Linked DNA regions of Homo sapiens: region 1 is linked to region 2. Evidence: promoter capture Hi-C in human tissues and cell types (Jung and others, 2019). All regions are on one chromosome and are shown on one strand. Each heading gives the region's core, a stretch centred on a gene start or on the middle of the fragment in contact. The rest is flanking DNA. Distances are from core to core; before and after follow the strand shown.

Region 1 (3,907 bases), core at 1,203-3,702, 1.0 Mb before region 2:
TCTGGCTGTGTGGCCTTGGGGAAATCTCTTAACATAAGGAGCTGTCTCATCATCTGTAAACAGGGGGGCTTATACCAAGACCTGGCTCAAAAGTTTATCTTGAGGATTAAATAATTAACATTACTGTCCAGGCGCAGTAGCCCACGCCTGTAATTTGAGAGGCTGAGGCAGGTGGATCACCTGAGGTCAGGAGTTTGAGACCAGCCTGGCCAACATGGCAAAATCCCATTTCTTCTAAAAATACAAAAATTAGCCAGGTATAGTGGTGCATGCCTGTAATCCCAGCTACTCAGTAGGCTGAGGTGGGAGAATCGCTTGAACCTGGGAGGCAGAGGTTGCAATGAGCCGAGATTGCAACACTGCACTCCAGCCTGGATGGCACAGTGAGACTCCCTCTCAAAAAAAAAAAAAAAAATCCCACAAAAGTGCTTAATAAATGCTCAAATAAGTTAGCTATTGTAAGAATACTGGTACAGGCAGTGGCAGAAGGGTCATCTGTTAGAGGCCTTGCAAAGTGGAGTGGATGAACTCTGGTGACCAGCTGGATGCATGGAAGAATAAAGGTCAGGCAAGAGAAGAATCATTGGTAACTCAATGTTTTACATCCCTCCTCCCACATTCCCCAAAATATGCATGCATACACACACAGGCACACATGCATGTGCACACACATACACACACACCCTATCATAGCCCCTCCATTCTTCAAAAGGTAATCAAGAAGGATAAAGACTTGAGTGGAAAAAAGATTAGGAATTTTTTCTTCAACAGAATGCATTGGAAACCACGGAAATGATCTCCATATGAAGACACTTAGAAGCTGAACATTTGGGTCTTGAATTCTAGAGATGGCAGAGTTAGGGATATGGCTTCAAGGGTCAACCACACTGATGTAATAGTCAAACAAGTGGTAAGATAAAAATCACAAGTGCAAAGGTTCAGATAAAAAAGAGTAAATTTAAAAAAACAAAACAAATAAACTCCAAACTAGAGAAGCCTGCTTAAACACAGGCAAGAGGAAGAAGAGTTAGGGAATGAAGGAAGCTGAGGTGTCTGTGAATGCAGACAAGGTATTTAGACACAAAAGTGCCATGGAGACCAATGATTTATAAGGGGACCATTCACTGGTGTCAAATACAAAGATCAGTAGAAGAGGGGTGGGAGGCAGCAGTTACCTTGGGTATTGGGGAATAATTTAAGAGGTAGGGCCAATCTGGTAATTGTCTATATACAAGTAAAAATCAAAGACATGCAAGAGAAATTAAAGGAAGCAGAGAAGAGGGAGAGTATTAAATGATGAGAGCAGAGAGTCTTGGAAAGTTGTCTTAAAGCACACAAGAAGGTGGAGAAGCCCCCACACTATGAAAAAGCCACCAGGTTTGGTGACTAGCAAGTCACCCTCAAAGCAGAATTGTCCAGTTCCTTCAACAAACTGCTGGTATGGAAAAACGTGTACTTTTTGAGAGTCATGAAATGGAATGGTTCCATCTTCAAGTTGTACATTTGTGAATTTAAAACCCTGTGAGTACATATATAAATTTTGCAAAAGGGCCTGTTCCATATGGTGAGCTCAGTCCCTTGGGAACTGAATTATCAAAGCTCCTATCTGATGTAAGGAAACAAAAGCCACGCAATTAAATTAGATCAGGGTGGTGGGTAGAGAAACAGGAGCCAGGTATGCTGAGTTCCAGCCGAGAACCACAAGTCTCCTTAGACAGACTAGCCTCAAAAATGCTCAGCTAGATGCTAGATGAAAATTTAGTACACGTTTTCCCCACCAAGCATGCATTCCACGCACACTCTGAGGCCTAGTCTAGCACGCTTCCTGAGTAACACATTTCCAATCATAAAACCGCTCTGGGAAGACTGTTTTAGATGGAGAGTTTTACATTTTCTTTTCTTTCAAAGGCAAGATATTACATTCATTGGTTAAGGAAAGTCTCAGGAGCCCCTGAGGAGTTCTGGTGTGACTTTTGTTGCCCCTCTGCTTATTCCAACTGATGTTTTTCATGACATGCATGTTTATTGGTCATAAGCAGGCAGCTGGGAGGTCTGTGCCAGGCTGTCTCTGGAGGCTGGGGAGTGAGGTCTAATGACATCAGGGGCAGGACTGCAGTGACTGACTCATGTGAGTAGTTAGCATCGAATTCCTTCATGGCCACGCTCACATTGCAAACATAAGGGAGGACGGAGTTCCCTAACCCCACGCTGCAGCGTGGTTTAGTCTACAACAATTGATGCTTGCTCTGTTCTCTGTTTCTGTTCTCCACCATGGGCAGTGGGTTGTGCAGCTGGGCTCCAGAGGCAGGGCTCAACAAAGCTTCCTGCCCTTTAATGGCAATGCAGCCACATTCATCAAGAAAGGAAAAAGAATTCCAACCTGCAGAGCCAAAAGGTGAGGGCAGCTGAATTCCATGCCTTTTAGCGTCTGCAATCTGTGAACAGGAACCAAGTTGCAAACTGCAGGCATGATCACACCTAGCTGGCTTTGAAACCGCTTTCTATTTCTCATTTCTAAGTAATCTGCATTGAAACACAAAAGCTTTTCTGCTGGTTAGATGGTGAACATTTACTGTCCCTTCATTTGGGGACAATGATTGAGTTTCTCACACACACAAAATGAGGGCTTAAAGTAGGCTCTGGGTAACCCAGAAAAAGTGATCAGCAGGGTTTCATCTTGAAGTAAGAACAGAACCACTCTGCAGAAACCCACAGCACATGTTCTGCATATCCTGATCAGCTTTGTTCATACGGTCAATATTCGATACTCTCAGTCCTCACTGCTGGTCCTTACGTAGGTACCAGAGCTGCTGGAGGGTTAAAACAGGTGTCTTTCCAGCCACAAACAAGATTCTCAGAGGCGATTCTGGGGCACCGGTGTGGAAATGGCTCTATGTGATAGGAACAGAACTCTCAGCACCATGGAACTCCAGGGTGAAGGCTAGACATAGCAAAAAATAAAGATATTCAAGGAGCGAAGACATTGATGAATGTCTCCAAGAAAGAGAATAACAGAGTAATAAAAGGCAAATGGTGCTGTAATATTTAGTCCATGCTTCACGATTGGCATGACTCAATCTGTCTCCATGTGGCTCTGGTTTACACATAAAGTATAACTGGCAAAATAAGGCTGAAAATCCTAGAATTTCTGAAGTAGCGACACAGCTTTCAATTCAAGTCACACATCATTTCTGACACAAAAATAACAGCAGTTGAGTACGTGAGAGGCCTTTCCCTCCAGAAGTGTAGGCTCTGATCCCACAATGTCGTCATTCATATTCCAGTCCAGAAGGACAGACCTTCTCCCAGCACTTTCAGCTAGATCTGCTGGCTTCTTTTATGGTTCTAAACTTACCCAATATGGAAAGCAGAATGCTGGTCCCTGAAAGATGTCTGCATCCTAGTCCCCTCAACCTGTGACTACATCAGGTTACATGGAAAAGGGGGAGTCAAGATTGCCAGTCAGCTGACCTTGAAATAGGGAGATTTTTCTGGAGGATCAGGGAGGCTCAATGTCCTTAAAGTGTCCTTAAAAGTGGACATGGGAGGGTTAGGGATGTGAGCATGGAAGCAGGGTCAAAGGGAAGCTATCTTGCTGGGTTTGAAGATGGAGGAAGAGGACAGCAAACCAAGAAATGTTGATGACCTCTAGAAGTTGGGGGAAAAAAAAAAAAAAGAAAAGATTCTCCCTAGGGCCTCCAGAAAAGAATGCATACCTGCTGGTGACCCCTTATGTCAGACCAGAGACTTTCAGTCTACAGACTCTAAAATTTAAGAGAGTAAATCTGTGTTGTTTTAAGTCACTGAATTTGTCCTAATTTATTACAGCAGCAACAGGAAACTAATATGTACTATCAGGAAGCAGAGACAGCCTCGCTCAGGAACAAAACTGCAGCTCCAAGACAGA
Region 2 (3,589 bases), core at 549-3,048:
TTAGACAAGGATATGGCCATAGATTTGGCAAGTTCTTCGTCGCGTTTCCTTTGCACTTGAGTTTGTTTGCACCAGTTGTCGTACTCTGGGTTAGGATAGGAGTGATCAAATACAGCATCATAGTGTCCGTTACTGAGCCAACTGAGCCAAATACTAGGCCTCAGGGAATCCTCTGGGCCCAAATAATGAATCATGGTAGACACCGTGGGACTCTCCAGCCTCCCTCCAGTAGTTAAATGGATATTCACATTCAGCATCTGCCCCATGGCCAGCAACTCCGGGTACCCGGCCCATGCCCCGTCTTGGGCAGCAGCGATGATAAACTCCCCCACGTCGCCCTCAATCAGGGGGCTGAAGTGGTCGAGATGGTCGGCGATGTAGTGCACCGTCTGCTCCCTCAACTCCCGGTGCAGGCTCTGGTCCCCATACACCGTCTTGCTGACAGCTCGGTAGAGGCAGTTGCCGTCTGGAATGATGTGGAATCGGTACTTATTCCTCTGCCGCAGATACTTGTCCTGCTTCTCCACCTCGGCCAGGTATAGGGCCAGCTTCTCGTCTCTGGGATCCGACCTGGAGACGATCACCGGCTCCGCCGCACTACTCGGGGCGGCCTCGATGCTCCCGGCGGGGGGTGCCTCGGCCTCTGGGTCGGGCCTCCGCGCCGCGTCCCCACCGGGCGCGTCGCAGCGATCGCCGCCCCTCTCCCAGCCCCTGGGGCCCCTCTCCGCCAAGTGCTCTTCGCCCCACGGACCGGGGCCGGGATCGGGGCTCCCCGGGGTCGCCGCGGGGCCTCGGTGCTTGGCGGCGGCCAGGGCCTGGCGGTGCTCGCTCAGTCGGAAGTTCCGATCGGGCCCCTCCCGTGTCGCGTCCAAGCCCGCGGGCTCGGGGCAGTCGGGCCGCAGCAGCTCCTCCAGGAGCCAGGCCGAGGAGCCCCGCCGCGGCGGGACCGGGGCTGCGGGCGCCGGGGCGAGCAGGAGGCAGCGGCCGCGCGGGGCAGCGGCGGAGCCCGCGGCGCCGGGAACGGGATCGGGCCCGTGCAGCAGGAGCCTGTCGGCGCCCAGGGCCCGCACGGTGATCTGTGCGGTGGACGTGTAGTGCGGCGGCAGCGGCGGCTTGCAGGACGCGCCGGGCGGGCCGGCGGCGGCGGAGGCGGGCGCGGCGGCCCCGGACACCACCTCGAAGCAGGAGGAGAAGGCGGGCATCTTGGCGGCGGGGACAGCGGCGGCTTCCCGGTGCTCGGCGGCCGCGGCGGGCTGGCACTCACCGGTCTCGGGCTCGGGCGCGGCGCCGGCGGCTCCCGGGGGCTGCAGCGAGACCTTGAAGGGGGTAGCGGCGGCGGGTGGCGCGGGGGCGGCGGCCGTGGGACCCGGGGCCCCGGCGGGGTAGTGGGTGCAGACGCTGCTGTAGAGCTGCATGTCCCTGCCCGCCGCTCGGCCCCTTATAGGCGCGGCGAGCCCCGGAGCGGGGGACACACCCTCCGGGCCCGGGGGAGGGGGCCGGCGGAGCGCGGTGACCCAACGGCCCCAGAATAGAGATGAGCGAAAGGCAGCCGGCCGCCGCGAGTCAGCAGCCGCGAATAGCGCCCGGGTCCCGGCCAAATTCCTGCTGCGCCACAGCGCAGGGGGGCGGGGACGGGACGCGAGCTCGACCCCTGCCGGTGCGCTCGGCCCGCAGACCCGGGGCGCCGCGCCCGCTGCAGCTGCTTCGGCCCGCGGCGGCCGCTGGGGACTCACGGAGGAAGCCGCCCGCCCCGTTGGAGCGCGTCCCGCCGGCGAGGAGGAGCGCGGTGCGCGCGGAGGCCCGGGAGGCGGGGCCGCGGTTGTTTACCTCAGGCCTCGCGGCCGCGTCACGTGGACTCACTGGAATGCGCGGCTCTTTGCGGCGCCCGATTCAGTCGCGCCTGCTCGCCCCGCCCACTCCGGCCCGCGCCCCGCCCCCTACCGCGCTCCGCCGACGTCACGGGCGTGGCCCTCGGCGCGCGAGCGCGCGCGGGCGGGGCGAGGCCGGGGGCGCGGAGGCCTGAGCAGTCCTGGGATCCTGGCTGGGCCTCCCGCCCACGTGACTCCCACGGACCGCTTCCCCCACCTGGGCACTGGGCACTGGTTTCTGCGCTGCGCCACTCTCCTCAGCGGCTGCAGTGGATGCTGCGGGATGGGAGCTGCTTGGGGCGAGTTAGCATGCTCGGAAAGCTTGCGTGGCAGGAAAGCTTCCGGCATGGGTGTGGAGAACGGAATGCTGCCTTAAAGTCTGTTTGGCCTCTGCTGGTCATGGGCTACCATCCCTGCTTGCATTCACTACTGCCTCTTTTCTTTTATCTTTTTAGAGATGGGGGTCTTACCTGTCTCCGAAGCTAGAGTGTAGTGGCGCAGTCCATAGCTCACTGCAGCCTTGACTTCCCGGGCTCAAGCGATCCTCCCGCCTCAACCTCCAGAGTAACTGGAAACCACAGGTGTGCACCACCGCACCCGGCTAATTTTCTTTCTTTCTTTCTTTCTTTTTTTTTAAGGCGAGGGTCTCACCACAGTTGCCCAGTCTGGTGTCGAACTACTGGCCTCAAGCTGTTTCCCGCCTCGACCTCCTAAAGTGTTGGGATTATGGGTCCTAGCCACCACTCGTGGAACCGCCGCGTCTTTTCCTTTTTTTTTTTTTCTTTTTCTTTTTGAGGCAAGGTCTTGCTCTGCCTTCCAGGCTGAGTGCAGTGGCGCCATCATGTCCCACTGCGACCTCGACCTCCAGGGCCCAAGTGATCCCCCTTCCTCAGCCTTGCCTTGGGCAGGGATTACAGGTGCCCAGCTAGTTTTACCACTGTGTCTTTTCTATGCATTTCCTTGGACTCACCGGTAAGGGTGAGTCCGCTAGTGGATTCTCTTGCCTTGCTAAGACAAAACCAACTTTGCACCTCTGACCTATGCCATTTGGCAAATATCTGGCTTGGGGGAAAGCAAGGAAGCCTTTTAGGCTTTTATAAACAAGCTTTCTCAGAATACCAAATGCAGTATCACTTAGGGCCCTTTGAGAATAGGTGTGAATGCTAGCCAGAGGTCAAAAGCGGTGGAGAAAGTCGTGACCTGCATTCCGGGGCAAGATAGACTATAGAAAATACTTCTACCGAGTCTTTTTGTAATACCCGCCTTTGTAAGGGAAAGCCAGAGGTAGTGGGAGACTTTTGCTATATTCTGAGCTGTGATCAAATGCTAAATTAACAGGGCCTAAACATTCGAATTGAACCCAGAGGTTGTCCTAACATTTTAGAGATAGGGAGACTGAACCTGTAGGTGATGTAGGCTGTACTCCGGTCCCCACCTTTCCGGTGGAATGTGAATTCCAGGAATTGAGAGACTTGGGTCTTGCTCTTATATTTCCATCCCCTAACACCGTGCTTGGCACATAATTGGACCTAATTAATATTTACTAAGTGAATGAGTAGATGGAAAGCGAGTTTCCAAGGTTTGTCAGACAGTGGTGAAGCCAAGATTACTATCCAGGTCCCTTGACCCTAGCCAGGGCTTTTAATTATCTTTGGGCAGTATGACTGGCAGGGTCCCAGCTCAGGTCACTCCAGCCGCTTATGTAAATTAACTCAGAAGAA

Evidence for each region. The method cuts DNA at HindIII sites, captures the fragments that hold promoters and counts their contacts. A contact is called where the count stands out against the background at its distance.
Region 1: a fragment that was not itself captured here is called in contact with the fragment with the promoter of OTUD1 in region 2 in 1 of the 25 tissues and cell types used here (dorsolateral prefrontal cortex).

Annotation. Positions count from the first base shown.
Region 1 is chr10:24,439,420-24,443,326 of GRCh38, reverse strand. The region is part of intron 5 of KIAA1217; the gene reads right to left. It overlaps LOC124902395 (a long non-coding RNA gene), which reads left to right and starts at 3,861. Exons shown (of 2, transcript XR_007062090.1): 1 at 3,861-3,907. RefSeq lists an enhancer at 2,484-2,533. The HindIII fragment of the contact is 3,642 bases long and covers 632-3,907 here.
Region 2 is chr10:23,437,284-23,440,872 of GRCh38, reverse strand. OTUD1 (OTU deubiquitinase 1) reads right to left here and starts at 1,798. Exons shown (of 1, transcript NM_001145373.3): 1 at 1-1,798. The coding sequence starts at 1,415. RefSeq lists silencers at 580-949, 1,090-1,429, 1,480-2,069. The HindIII fragment of the contact is 8,203 bases long and covers 1-2,590 here.